Linked DNA regions of Homo sapiens: region 2 is linked to region 1. Evidence: promoter capture Hi-C in human tissues and cell types (Jung and others, 2019). All regions are on one chromosome and are shown on one strand. The core of a region is centred on a gene start or on the middle of the fragment in contact, and the rest is flanking DNA. Distances in the headings are between cores, read along the strand shown. Region 1 holds the start of PDYN (prodynorphin). Region 2 has its middle 47 kb from the start of LINC03086.

What was found. The method cuts DNA at HindIII sites, captures the fragments that hold promoters and counts their contacts. A contact is called where the count stands out against the background at its distance.
Region 2: a contact is called between a fragment that was not itself captured here and the fragment with the promoter of PDYN in region 1, in 1 of the 25 tissues and cell types used here (dorsolateral prefrontal cortex).

What each region holds. Positions count from the first base shown.
Region 1 is chr20:1,990,176-1,996,901 of GRCh38, forward strand. PDYN (prodynorphin) reads right to left here and starts at 3,883. Exons shown (of 4, transcript NM_024411.5): 1 at 3,736-3,883; 2 at 2,409-2,468. All of the region lies in intron 3 of PDYN-AS1 (PDYN antisense RNA 1), which reads left to right. RefSeq lists an enhancer at 3,423-4,253. The HindIII fragment of the contact is 29,966 bases long and covers 1-6,726 here.
Region 2 is chr20:2,156,247-2,163,108 of GRCh38, forward strand. No RefSeq gene overlaps it. Among named protein-coding and RNA genes, the nearest start is that of LINC03086, 47 kb to the right of the region's middle. RefSeq lists an enhancer at 6,808-6,862. The HindIII fragment of the contact is 3,078 bases long and covers 1,468-4,545 here.

The DNA of each region.
Region 1 (6,726 bases), core at 2,633-5,132:
GGGAAAACAGAGGCTCAGAGTCTAAAAGACTGGGCCAAGACCAAGAAGCAAGGAAACAGCAGAATAAGATTTCAGAGTCAGTCTGCTGACCACGCCACAAACCATCCTGAGGCCTAAATATGTATCGAGTGTCTTTCGGATAACCTCCCAAACTCTCACATTCCTGACGTTGAAACCATTTCAGAAGCTTTTGCCCCACACTCGAAAGTGTAAAGTTCACCCTTGTGGGTCTCCAGGTGGTTGGCAAAGGGAGCCCCTGAACCTGGAAAAGCGGTGCCCCTTGTTAGGTGTTAGCATCGTAACGAAAGACGAATGATCAATGGGAAGGAGGCTCGGGTTCTGAACAGAAAGTAAACCCACACTTTAGCCTGGCAAAGATCAAAGCACAGAATCGGATGAGGGTCCCGTTTGGTGGTCGGCTGCATTTGCTGTGCAGAGACCAGAGGGAAAGACGGCCTTGCAGGCAGTGGTCCTGGTGGGATCATTCACTGCATATTTAAAAGAACGTTTTTCAAGAGCAAGGTTTGGATGGAACCGCCACCCTTTTTGTTATCTGGTGCAATTAAGGGATGGGGAGAAAGGCAAAAAGAGGATAAGCTAGAGAGATATGGAGATGAAGAGACATAGAGAGAGAGATGTAAAAAGAGAGAGTTAGAGATATAGACACAGAGAAAAAGACAGGGGCCCAAAAGAATGGCAGAGGTGAGAACTGCACACACAGAAAAAGAGACCGAGACACCGAGAAAAAGCAGAGAGAGGTGGAGGACCATATGGGAAGAAAAAATAAGATGAGACATAGAGATGGGGAGAGGACAAATGGGAATAGAAGGGAAGGGGGTGAGGAGGAGGGGAAGAAGAGGGAAAAAAGGGAAGGGAAGTGAACACAATAAGAGAGAGAGAAGTGGGGAGGGAGAGTAGATTTTGATTCAGGATGCTGACATACCGTGTGAATCACAAACACCAATTCTCTCCCTCCTGCTGCTCTCTGAGTCTGCCCTTTGTTCCTAGGGACCAGTGGGCAAGAGACCCTGCCACATAATAACTGCTCAGTAAACCGCTGTCAAGTTAAATCAAATCGTCCAGGAATAGGACAGGGACCAAATGGCAGTTCAAGCCAATGCATCAACAAATTGCCTCGGTGCATATGTCTGCGGCTTGTGGCCAGCCGCTCTGGCCAGTGGGATGACCTGGATGGACTCGGAGGAGCCCCCTGAGCCAAGCCATGTGCCTCATGGACCTAGGCCATCGTCCTCCTGCCAGGAGCATCAGTCTGGATCCAGGCTGGGAGGGACTGATGAGGCTGCGCTTCACAGCACTAACAGACCCCACTCCATTTCGAGGGTCTGATCCTGGGGCTTACCTGGGTGTCTCCAGCCGATGTTCACTGCCTACCACAGTGGCCAGCTCTGTCTCAGTGAAACAGGTTTATCACTTTGTCAGACCCAGCAAGATTAGCCAACATTCATGGGCTGAGATGAGTGAATACAGTGAGAGAAATCAGCTGTGTAACCACACTTTGTCAGGCATGCATTGAAATCGAACCAGTAACTATTGATCTCTCTTACAATGATGGAAGAGATCTAATAAATACGACAATTGTGCAGGAATGACCCAAGGAGGTGGGTAGTGGGAGGTGGATTTAGGGAGTATCGATCAAAAAGAGACTTCATGATCCTGATGCAGCAGATGAAATAAAAAGTCTTCTGCTGGGATGGGGAGGGGAAAGGAGCACCAGCCCCTCAAATGAAAATATTAGACATTAGATCATATCTCCTGGACATAGCACACAGCATGATGGAGTGGGATGATCAGCGATATGATAATCGATGGAGAGAAAGGTCCAACCTCACCACTTCGGAACAGTGAAAATCTGAGCAGTCATGCCAGTATTTATTGAGCACCTACTGAATGCCAGGCATTTTGCTATATCCCATTGGAGACTTGCAATAACCTTAGGAGGTGAATATTATTATTATTCTCATCATACAGGTAAAGAAAGTATGACTCAGAGAGGGACTTCTACTGTTCCAAAGTCACACAGTAAGTGAGTGGTAGGATCTGGGATTTCAGCCCAGCACTGTTTCAGGTGTTGTGAGACACACGTGTAGATGACAGATGGAAAATTCCTGCCTCCCAGGAGTTACTTCAAGAAACCTTAACTCCTTCCACGTGTTTTAAGATCGCAAATCTCTCAAATAGCCCCAGAGCTGATCCCTTTGCCTGCTCCCTTAAAATGTGCTGCCTTCCGCCACATAGCCTTGGGAACCAGTGTGACATCCCCCTCCCAGCTGCCAACAGAGGCATAGGGTTTGCCTGCCACCTATCACACCTCTAGCTCAGCTGGGGCAAAGCAGTGGGCTTGAGATCCCGTCAGTGAACGCAAACCACCCCCAGGCAGCATAACTCACCGGCTTGGGCTGCTGCAACAGCTCCCCCCACGCAGATCTCAAAGCCTGAAGATAAATGACCTGCAAAAATAGAACAAAGGCAAGGTGTGGTGGGACTGGGGGGAGAAGAGGAGGGGAAAAGAGAAGGAAGGTGCCACAGAGGGGTGGGAGTGAGGCCTGGGGTGAGAAAGAACAGAAGAGGATCGACATTCTGCAATGCTTTGCAATGGATCTCGACTGGGATGCCTGTCAAATTAGAAAGGCAAGCCTTGTATATTTCAGCAACCCTTGGAAGAAAGATGATAATGAAGACTTTCAGTCTGTGGGAGGGGAATTGAAATCAGATCCAATAATCGAAAGAGCTTGTTTCCCCTGGGAAGACTGGAGACTTAATTAAGTAATGTTTGTAGAGCTTGGAGGGATTCTTGATACCCAGGAAAAAGTAAGCAGTTGCAGAATTTACTCTTCAACCTTGGAGTAGTCAGCAGGCTTTTTTTTTTTTTTTTTTTTTCCTGAAACTCATCAGCTTTTTGCTAGAATCAAACTTTGAGACTTGGTACTTTTCTGAATATGGGTCTCTGGACCAGTGAGCAAATGGCTTTCCCTTTGAGCCTCCTCCTGGCCTTAGACTCCTCTGGCTGTAGTTAATAGGAGAGCAACAAGTCCTTTCCAAGTAAAATGGACAAGAAAATGCCTGCTAAGCCTGGGCCTCCTGGCTTGTTGTCACTCCCTTTTCCCATTCCCTTCCAACAAAACATCCCCAAACTTCAACCTGTATCAAATTCCATCAAAAGAAGCCGCTCAAACCAGCACCCTGTCAGCAATTAAACACAATCCGAAAAGAATGAAAAGGCCGAACCTGGCCGTACATTGATGTACATGTTATGTGATAAATGCCAGAGCCTTGGATCTCATTAATGTCCTCAAGCCATTGTTCTCTAAGTCCAGTGAGACTCATTGACCTTTAAAATCACCCTGATTAGTGAAACCTCTCACTTCTCCCATCCAGGGTGTCCCATTTTCCCCAGACCCTGGGAATGGCATGGGAACTGCTGTGTGGGAGACTGCAAGAAGGAGACCCTGGAGCTAAAGCCAAAGGGTGGTCCTCTTGGGAGAGAGCTTACCACCTGTTTAAGCCAGGACTGTGCAGAAAGGGAGAGTCCAAAGAGCAGTCTCTCACTGGTCTGGCTTTTGTGAACTAGCCTCCTAACTGTAACCACCTTTGCTAGATAATCAGACCCAAACCTAAAATCCCCAGCCCGAGCTCCCACCATCTCTAGGTCCAGAGGACCAGGAATAAGCAAATAAAACCAAGCGATAGAATTCCAGTGCCCCCTCTGGATGTTACCTGCACTCTGCTTTGTCCCTGGGCAGCTTCTGGCCGAGCAGGTCGGAGGTGGCAGTGGCTGGTCCAAGGCTCAGGGGCCTCCTTGACTCCGGCTTGGGAGGAGGTGCCAAAGAGGCAGCTGTGAACACCACCAAAGCCCCTTCAAATGGCAGTTCTGGTGCCTCTTCCCCCCTTTTATGGACGAGAGCCTCCCCTGTCGCTCAGCCCTTGCTGAGCACAGGCTGCTGGGAGCCAATGGGGAAGTGGCTGAGAGCAGTCAGAGCACAGACCCCCAGGCCCTTCAACTCGAACTCCCTGGGCCTGACACAATAGGCTTCTCTTCGTGACAGGGATGTGGAGGAGGAAGGCAGCCGTGTTGGGGAGGGGGCGGATTCTGGGTGTAGTGCTGTTTGTCACTTGAAATCCGGCCACTTCAGTTTTTGATGCGTTTCCAGGAGAGTGTCACAGGAAAAAGAAGACAGGGAAGGACAGAGACAGAAGAGTTAGAGAAAGAGAGAGAGAGAGAGAGACTCAGAGAGAATCGGAAATCGAGAAAGAGGCAATGTCGGACCTAGGGAGTGATACAAAGGAGGGGAGAAAGAGAAAGAAAAACAGAGACAGAGAGTGGCAGAGATAGGGAGATGGGTAGAAACACAAGGAGAGAGGGACAGAGCAAGAAAAAAGGAAACCAGCCAGGTAGACTGTCAGACTCAAAACACACTGATCCACAGACAGACAGACGTGGAGACAGACAGAGGCTGAGACAGTCTTCTGATCACGGAAGAGAGTCGGAAGATGACAGCCGAGTCAGCAGGCACGTGCATGGCCCGCTGTTGCGTGCCGTGGCAACTCTGTGTTGGCTGGTGCACGCGTGTGCTGGAATCTTTTTGTGTGTACATTTGCCTGCAAACGGCATTCGGCTCTGGTACATGCCTGAGCTGGTGCCAGGCACACTAGCCCTGGCAGAAGCACAGCTCTTCCCCGACAGCCAGGAGCTGCAGTTTAGTTTTCTCTGGCGGCAACACAAAATGAATAGCAGGAAAAACCCCTCAAAATATGGGCTGCAATATGCCTCAGCACACACTCTGGGTGAGGGATGGACCCACCTCAATATACCCTTGGCCTGGACCAGCAGCAGCTTGAAGGTGGCACTCTTCATTGCTACAGAGATCTTCCAGAACATAAGGGTCTTTGAGTTTGGAAGAGAACATGCTTCTCTTCTCAGTCAATAGCAGACAGTTTGTGGTGGGAGGCACAACTATTTCAGAAGTCTGGCAGGGCCGCCCATTTTGTGGGCACCTGGCTGCACCAGGCGGTTAGGTAGAGTTGTCAGATTTAATCCTCATGACCTAGCCAGTTGGTTAATATTATCCCCATCTTGCAGATGAGAAAACAGAGGTTTGAGAGCTGAGAAACTTTCCTAGAGACACACAGCAAGTAAGTCATCCAGCTAGAACCTAAAGTCAGGTCCATCTATCCTCCAAGTTCCTAGAGACACACAGCAAGTAAGTCATCCAGCTAGAACCTAAAGTCAGGTCCATCTACCCTCCAAGTTCCTAGAGACACACAGCAAGTAAGTCATCCAGCTAGAACCTAAAGTCAGGTCCATCTACCCTCCAAGTTTCTGCCCCCTCCCTTGCCTCTCCCCAGGCTTGAATCTGCCCACACTGAGGGGTGGGGTCAGTTTTCTTCTCTGGGACTCAGCCTCTCCATACACAGGCTGTGCTTAATGACATTTAAGATGTGAGTTTGACTCTCAGGTCTGCCACTCACCATCGGAGAGACCTTGGATAAGCTGCCAACTTCAACCTCTGATTGCTCATCTGTACAGTGGGGACAACAGTATCATGGGGCTCTTGGGCTCTTGTGAGGGTGAAAGGAGGATGTGTCAATAGCACTTAAAGCAGCCAGTACGGAGCGGATGTTCTGCTCCCATCATTCCTGATAAACCACATCCCTCCAGCTTTGATGCAGCAGGTTCTCCTGGGCATCCTCCTCTCCCTGCACCTGGCTCGTTAAACTCTCACATAAGGAGGAGGGTAGAAGGGGCTGTTTGCTGAACACCTATTATGCCTCAGACATTTCCACATTCCATCACATCCTCACAACAAGAAAACCTGTGGTGTGGATCTCACAATGCGTCCTCAGATGGAGAAGGCAGCAGAAGTTCAGAGAGGCCCCAGCCACCCAGGGAGGGAGGAAGAACCGAGACCCATCCCTCAGATCCTGAAGCTGCAGCCCCACCACACTCCCCTCTGGACCCACAGCCTCACTTTCCTTCTCCTCCCTGTCTCCTCTTCCCGAGGCAGCACAAGGGGTCTGACTGGCGGGTGCAAGCGACTCCTGGTGCCCTATGTGGAAGCCCCTGCCCAGTTGGTGATAGCCAGTGCGCAGGGTCACCAAGCACTTGGCCACATCTCAGGCTGGCTTCTTGCATGGTGGCCAGAGGACATGAGTGGAGTCTATTCATTGCCACCCTGGGAATCTGGGAGCCCAGGAGTGAGCGTCTACTTCATCCCCAAGGCCAAAGCCTCACTCCAACTGCTCTCTTTCCTCATTTTTCATTTCCTCCTTCTCCTCCTAACCTCTGCCTCTATAAGCTCTTGGTAATAACCTTCGAATACACAGAGACTCTTAGAGAGGGAGTACAATGGCTCCCGTGGCTGGAAGTCAGCAAGCACTGGAAGAGCAGAGGACAGGGGCCTCTCCTGACTGTTATTCACCAGAGGGAAGTTGGGGCAGTGAGAGTAGAGACACTCATGGATAATCCTCATTAAGCCATTGATGTCTGATATCCTTCACCCCCTGAGTCTACTGTTGCCTCAAGAGCAAATAGTTCCTGCATTTGCCTTTCCTCTCCTTCCGCAGCCTCCTTTACACACACACACACACACACACACACACACACACACATAGAAGGCCAGGAGCAGCCTTCCCCCTTAGTCCTGGAGAACCTTGCCATAAAGCTCACCCTCTCCTGGGCTCAGTGATGCACCAATCATGGTGCTGGCC
Region 2 (6,862 bases), core at 1,757-4,256, 170 kb after region 1:
ATACTACAGCTAACATCATACTAACGGTAGAAGACTGAGTAACTTCCCCCTAACATCAGGAATAAGGATGTCCGCCCTTATCATTCAACATTGTACTAGCGTTTCTAGCCAGTGCCATCAGTCAAGAAATAAAGAAATAAAAGGCATGAGATTAAGAGAAGTAAAACTGTTTTTATTTGCAGATGACATCATCATCTATGTAGAAAATCTAATGAAATCTATAAAAAGCTATTAGAACTAAGTGAATTTGGCAAGGTTGCCAGATTCACGATCCATATACAACAATCAATTGTATTTCCATATGCTAGCAATAAATAATCAGGAATTGAAATGGAAAAAATAATACCCATTTAAAATATCATCAAAAAGTATGAACTACATATGGATAAATCTGGCAAAAGAAATCAAAGATTTGCATGGTCTACAAAATATTGCTGGGAAAATTAAAGAAATTTAAATAAATGAGGAGATATAAGTCGATCCTCACTATTTTGTATTTGCAAATTCACCTACTCACTAAAATTTATTTGTAACCCCAAAATCTAACCACAGGGCTGTAGCAGTCACTCAGAGACATGTACAGGCAGCAAAAATGTGAGTAGCCAGATGCTCACGTTCCCAGCTGAAGTCATACAAGGCAACTCCCTGCCTTCTTGATTCAGGTCTTATAACTGTTGACAAGGATCCTTTCCACAGTCTATTTAGTGCCATGTTTTTCACATGTATGCTTTTCGCTGGTGACTTTAAACTGTCCCTATATATAGTGCCCAAGTGCTGCCTCATGTTCCCACATACAAGGAGGCTGCAGTGTGCCTCATGGAGAAGACACATGTGTTAGGAAAGCTCCGTTCAGGGGTGAATTATGGTGCTGTTGGATGTGAGCTGAATGTGGATGAATCAACAGTGGCTACTATAGGCCAGGCACGGTGACTCACGCCTATAATCCCAGCACTTTGGGAGGCCGAGGTGGGTGGATCACCTGAGGTCAGGAGTTTGAGACCAGCCTGACCAACATGGTGAAACCCCATCTCTACTAATAATACAAAACTTAGCTGGGCATGGTGGTGCACGCCTGTAATCCCAGCTACTCAGGAGGCTGAGGTAGGAGAATCGCTTGAACCTGGGAGGTGGAGGCTGCAGTGAGCTAAGATCATGCCATCGCACTCAAAAAAAAAAAAAAAAGAAAATAGCTATTACATAAGGTGCCTTTAAAGAGAAATGCACACAAAGCAAGGTAATGTATTATCAATGGACAAGAATGTTGGAGCCAGAGGCTCACAGGAACTGCACTCTGTACTTCCCCTGGGATCAATGGTTCAGTATTTGCTAATTCAGTGTTCGTGGACACTTTACAAAACATAACTACCATGAATAACAAGAATTAATCATAGTTTGTTCGTGGGCCGGAAAACTCAAAGTCATTAAGATGGCAATTCTCTCTGAACTCACCTATAGATTCACTGGAATCCCCACCAAAATCTCAGCAGGCTCTTTTTGTAGGAGTCGACAAGCTGATTTTAAAACTCATATAAAAAAGTAAAGGGGCCTAAAATGGTCAAAACAACTCTAAAAAAGAACAGTTAGAGGGCTAACACTATCTGATTTGAAGAAGTATTATGAAGCTACATTAATCAGAACAGCATGGTATTGGCATAAAGATAGGCATATAGATCAACAGACAAGAATAGTGAGTCCAAAATTAGATCCACATGTATTTAGACAACTGATTTTTGACAAAGTTACAAAGGCAGTGCTGTGGAAAAAGGCTAGCGTTTTTAACAAATGGTGCTAGAATAACCAGATAACTATATTTAAAAAAATAAACTCAATATATGCCTCACACTGTATACAAAAGTTAAATCGAAGTGGATCAAAGATTTAAATATAAAATGACAAAACTTCTAGGAGAAAACATACAAGAAAATCCCGATGGCACTGGCAGATATCTCTTAGATGACAGCAAAAGCACAATTTATAAAAGAACAAATGGATAAATTGAACCACATCAAAATTTAAAACTTCTGTATTTCGGCCGGGCGCAGTGGCTCACGCCTGTAATCCCAGCACTTTGAGAGGCTGAGGCAGGCAGATCACGAGGTCAAGAGATCAAGACTATCCTGGACAACATGGTGAAACTCCATCTGTACTAAAAATACAAAAATTAGCTGGTCGTGGTGGCACGTACCTGTACTCCCAGCTACTCAGGAGGCTGAGGCAGGAGAGTCGCTTGAACCCAGGAGGCGGAGGTTGCAGTGAGCCGAGATAGTGCCACTGCACTCCAGCTTGAAGACAGAGCAAGACTCCATCTCAAAAAAAAAAAAAAAAACCTAAAAACTTCTGCATTTCAAGGGACACTGTTAAAAGAATAAACAGACAAAACAGACTGGGAGAAAATCTTTACAAAGCATGTATTTAATAAAGAATTTGTATCAAGAATATAAAGAACTGTCAAAATTGAATAATAATAAAACACCCCCGCAAGCTGGCAAAAGATTTGAATAGACATGTCACCAGAGACCATAAGCATGGCAAACTGCACATAAAAAGATGCTCAACATCATTTGCCATCAAGGAAAATTAAATTGAAAAGTTTTAAATTTAAATTTAATTGTTTTATACTTAAGTTGTAAACATTTTAAATTTAAATTTAAAGATCAAATTAGGCCGGGCACAGTGCCTCACGCCTGTAATCCCAGCACTTTGGGAGGCCGAGATGGGTGGATCACCTGAGGGCAGGAATTGCAGACAAGCCTGGCCAACATGGTAAAACCCCGCCTCTACTAAAAATACAAAAATTAGCTGGGCGTGGTGGCATGCACCTGTAAACCCAGCTACCCAGGAGGCTGAGGCAGGAGAATTGCTGGAACCTGGCAGGCAGAGGTTTCAGTGAGCCGAGATCACACCACTGCACTCTAGCCTGGGTGACAGAGCAAGACTCCGTCTCAAAAAAAAAAAAAAAAAAAAATCAAATTAAATCTCCAATAAGGTGCTACTTGCTACACACCTATGTTGGTAAGTAGGAGGAAGAACTGGAACTCTTATGCCCTGTTGGTAGGATGGAAAATGGTATTACCACTTTTGAAACACTTCAGCAATTTCTTAAAAATTAACCATAAACTCCAGCCATTTCACTTCCAGGTACTTACTCAAAAGAAAAGGAAATCCATGTTCATGCAAAGACTTAGATAAGTACATCTTTATTTATAATAGCCCCAAACTGGAAACAACCCATCTGTCCATCTGCATATCAATGCATGGATAAAAGAATTGTGGTATATCCACACAGCCAAATGCTACTCAAGAACACAAAGGAAAACTAGGCATACATGCAGTAACATGGGTGAGTCTCAAAGTAACAATGCTGAGGGAGAGGAACTAGACACAAAGAGTATGATTTTATTTACATAAAACGCTAAAAAATGCAAACCAATCTATAGTAACTGAAAGCAAGTCAGTGGTTCCTTCAAGATGGTGAAGGGCTGCAGGGGAATATGACAAAGATACCCGAGGAGGGCCGGGGGCAGTGGCTCACGCCTGTAATCCCAGCACTTGGGGAGGCCGAGGCCTGTGGATCCCTTGAGGCCAGGAGTTTGAGACCAGCATGACCAACCAACATGGTGAAACCCCATCTCTACTAAAAATACAAAAATTAGCGGGGCGTGGTGGCAGGCGCCTGTAGTCCCAGCTACTAGGGAGGCTGAGGCATGAAAATCAGTTGAACCCAGGAAGCGGAGGTTGCAGTGAGCTGAGATCGCACCACTGCACTCCAGCCTGGGCAACAGAGTGACAGTCTGTCTCAAAACAAAACAAAAAACCAAAGATACCTGAGGAGAATTAGTTGTGACGGGTGTGTTCACTCCCTGGAATACGGTGACGATTTCATGCGTGTACACATATGTCAAAACTTATTAAGTCGTATATTAAAATATGGGCAATTCATTGTGTGTCAACTATACCTCAATCAAATTGTTTTTAAAAAGTAGGAAGGACATAAGAGTTCACCTGAAGGGGCCCCTACCTGGAGGCCAAACTTGGAACAATTTGAGCGTCAAATAAGAACAGTGATGATAATGGATTTACAACACATCGAACAATAATAATAGTTTTTTAATCTGTGTATGATGATACTACGAAAGCAGGGGAGAGGGAAGGGAGAGGAAAGCTTTACAGAAGAACATAGAAAGGATAATGGGAAAAATCTCTATTTGCAGCTACTAATGCAATAATTGATTCAGGCAAGGCATCAATAGCTGCTAAAATCACTATGTGAAAATTCGTGAGGAAACAGGTACTCACATATCTCAAATATCATAATTCATCACACAGATGAATTACTATGTACAAAAGGAAAGATTAGCTTTATAATGGAGAGATCTTCGGGAACACATTAGTCAAATGATCACACCTTAGCATTACCAATGATGAGACAAACTGGCAGGAGGCCCCTCCTTATATAACACAATGGGAGACACAGCCTCCCCTCTGCAGATCTCGTGCCCAGAATGCTTAGCCAAGTCTAATCACAAGGAAACAATCAGACACACCCAAATTGAGGAACATTCTACAAGACACCTGGGCTGTCTCTTTTACAAATGTCAATGTCATGAAAGGAAAAAAAAGGTGGGGGCGATGGTACAGTGGGGACTATTCATTCCAGATTAGACCCTAAAGGAATGTAACAACCAAAGGAAGTGCCTGATCCTTGATGGAATCCCGTACTGAAAAGAATAAAAGTAAAACTGCTATAAAGGACATTATCGAGACATTTGGGGAACTAGAATATGAGCTGTATGAGGACAGCCTTGTAACAATGTTAAACATTTTGGTTATTCTGGTATTTAGTTAGTATTTTTGTTGTGTGGGAGAATGCCGCTTGTTGTAGTATTCTGCTTGATACACGGATGCATGCCCAAGTTTTTAGGGGTGAAGCTTTATGATATCTCTCTCGCTCTCTCCCACCCTGCCCTACCCCAGCCACATACCTGCCTACCAAGAGAACAGCACAAATGTGGCAAAATGCTAACTAGGGAGGCTTGGCGAAGGGTGTAAGGGTATTCATTGCATGATTCTTTTAATTTCTCTGTAGTACAAAAATATTCAAATTAAAAGCTAGAGGGCAGGCTGGGCGTGGCAGCTCACGCCTGTAATCCCAACACTTTGGGAGTCCGAGGCAGGTGGATCATTTGAGATCTGGAGTTCAAGACCAGCCTGGCCAACATGGTGAAACCCCATCTCTACTATAAAAAAAAAAAAAACAAAAATTAGCCGGGCATGGTGGCAGACATCTATAATCCCAGCTACTCAAGAGGCTGTGGCAGGAGAATCATTTGAACCCAGGAGGCGGAGGCTACAATGAGCTGAGATCGTGCCTCTGCACTCCAGCCTGGGTGACAGAGTGAGACATCATTTAAATAAATAAATAAAAGCTGGAGGGGAAAGGTAGGGGTGGCTGGTCCAGAAGGGTCCTTCCAGCTCCAAGAGTCAGCTACCAGCTCTGACCTTTGATTGCCAGTACCTGGGCCCCTCCTGCCCACCTGGCAGCATCTTCCTTCTCCCAGCAGCCATGGTGCTGTCCATCCTGCCGGACCTGGACCACTGGGAGCAGGAGGTCACCTCCTCCTGCCCATAGCTCAGAATGAAAGCATAGGTGAGTTGCAGAGGAGGGAGCAAATATGGAGAAGTAATAGATGGGCAGGCTGCAGATGGGAGGGAGCATGGCCTCAGGAGGTAGGGGACCCCCAGATCTGTTTGTAGATGAGAGACCCACAGCTGCCACTCTGTGCATGTTGATAGGACCAGACTTGCCCTCAGGTCTGCTGGCTGGAAGCCTGCAGTGGTGTCCATCCCTCCGAGTCCTCACCATGCATACATCCTCTACTCTCCTCTCCCCTCACTCACGCCGTTCCAGCCTCCCCACACCCCCACCCTGCCCTGAGCTGCTGTGTTATGGCAAGGACACACAGGCCTGCCCCAGGGCCCCTGCACTTGTTCACTCTCCTGCACTGCTTCCCCCTGCCCCTGCCCTGATGTCTGCCCAGCCACACCCTCGCCTCTGTCTTCCTTGCTGGCTTTGTTTTTGTTTTTCTCCAGAGGACACATCACCATGTGACATCCCACCTGCGTGTCATGCTTCTTGTCTGTCTCTCCCCCCACATGCCAGGGGCATCATTTTTATCCACTGTGTTCGCTGCCATATCCCCAGCATCTAGTAGGGTGCAGGGTACATGGTAGATGCTCAGTAAAGAGTTTGTGAGTGAATGACTCCAAAGCCAGGTTTCTGCTTTCCCTTGGACAGTGGTGTCTGTGTGTGAATGTGTGTGTGTGTGTGTGTGTGCGCGCGCGTGCACGTGTGTCAGTTGGGCAGGTTGGAGGGTGTCCAGCCAGCTGGGTCATTCCTCTGGGACTCATTTCCTGGGGTGCAGGCAGAGTTCTCAGAGGGCTGTGAGGACGCCACTTGCAGCATCAACACATTACATAATCTGGCACTGGACAGCGGTGAGGGGCAGGCAAAGCCTTTATTCTGTGTTTGCCCAGAGAAACTTCCCCAGGTCATGTCCTAAGCTGCCAGCTCTTCAGCTTTGTGCTCTCTAATTGCCCTGACAGATCCCACCACCCATTCACCCGGCCCACTGGCTCTGAAAGAAGACTGCATGGGTGACGCTCGGAGCTTGGGAGGAGCCCAGGCCCTGGTATGTTCTGGATGCTGTTGCCTGGGGCCTGAGCCCCACCCAGGCAGTGATGACCCTGCGAGGCCGAGCCTCTCCATCCTCCCGTCTGTACACGCGCAGGGCTCCAGGTGCTCCCTCTGGTGCCGCCTCGCTGCCTTCTGAGCTTTCCTGAGCTTGGACTCATGGCCTGAGCT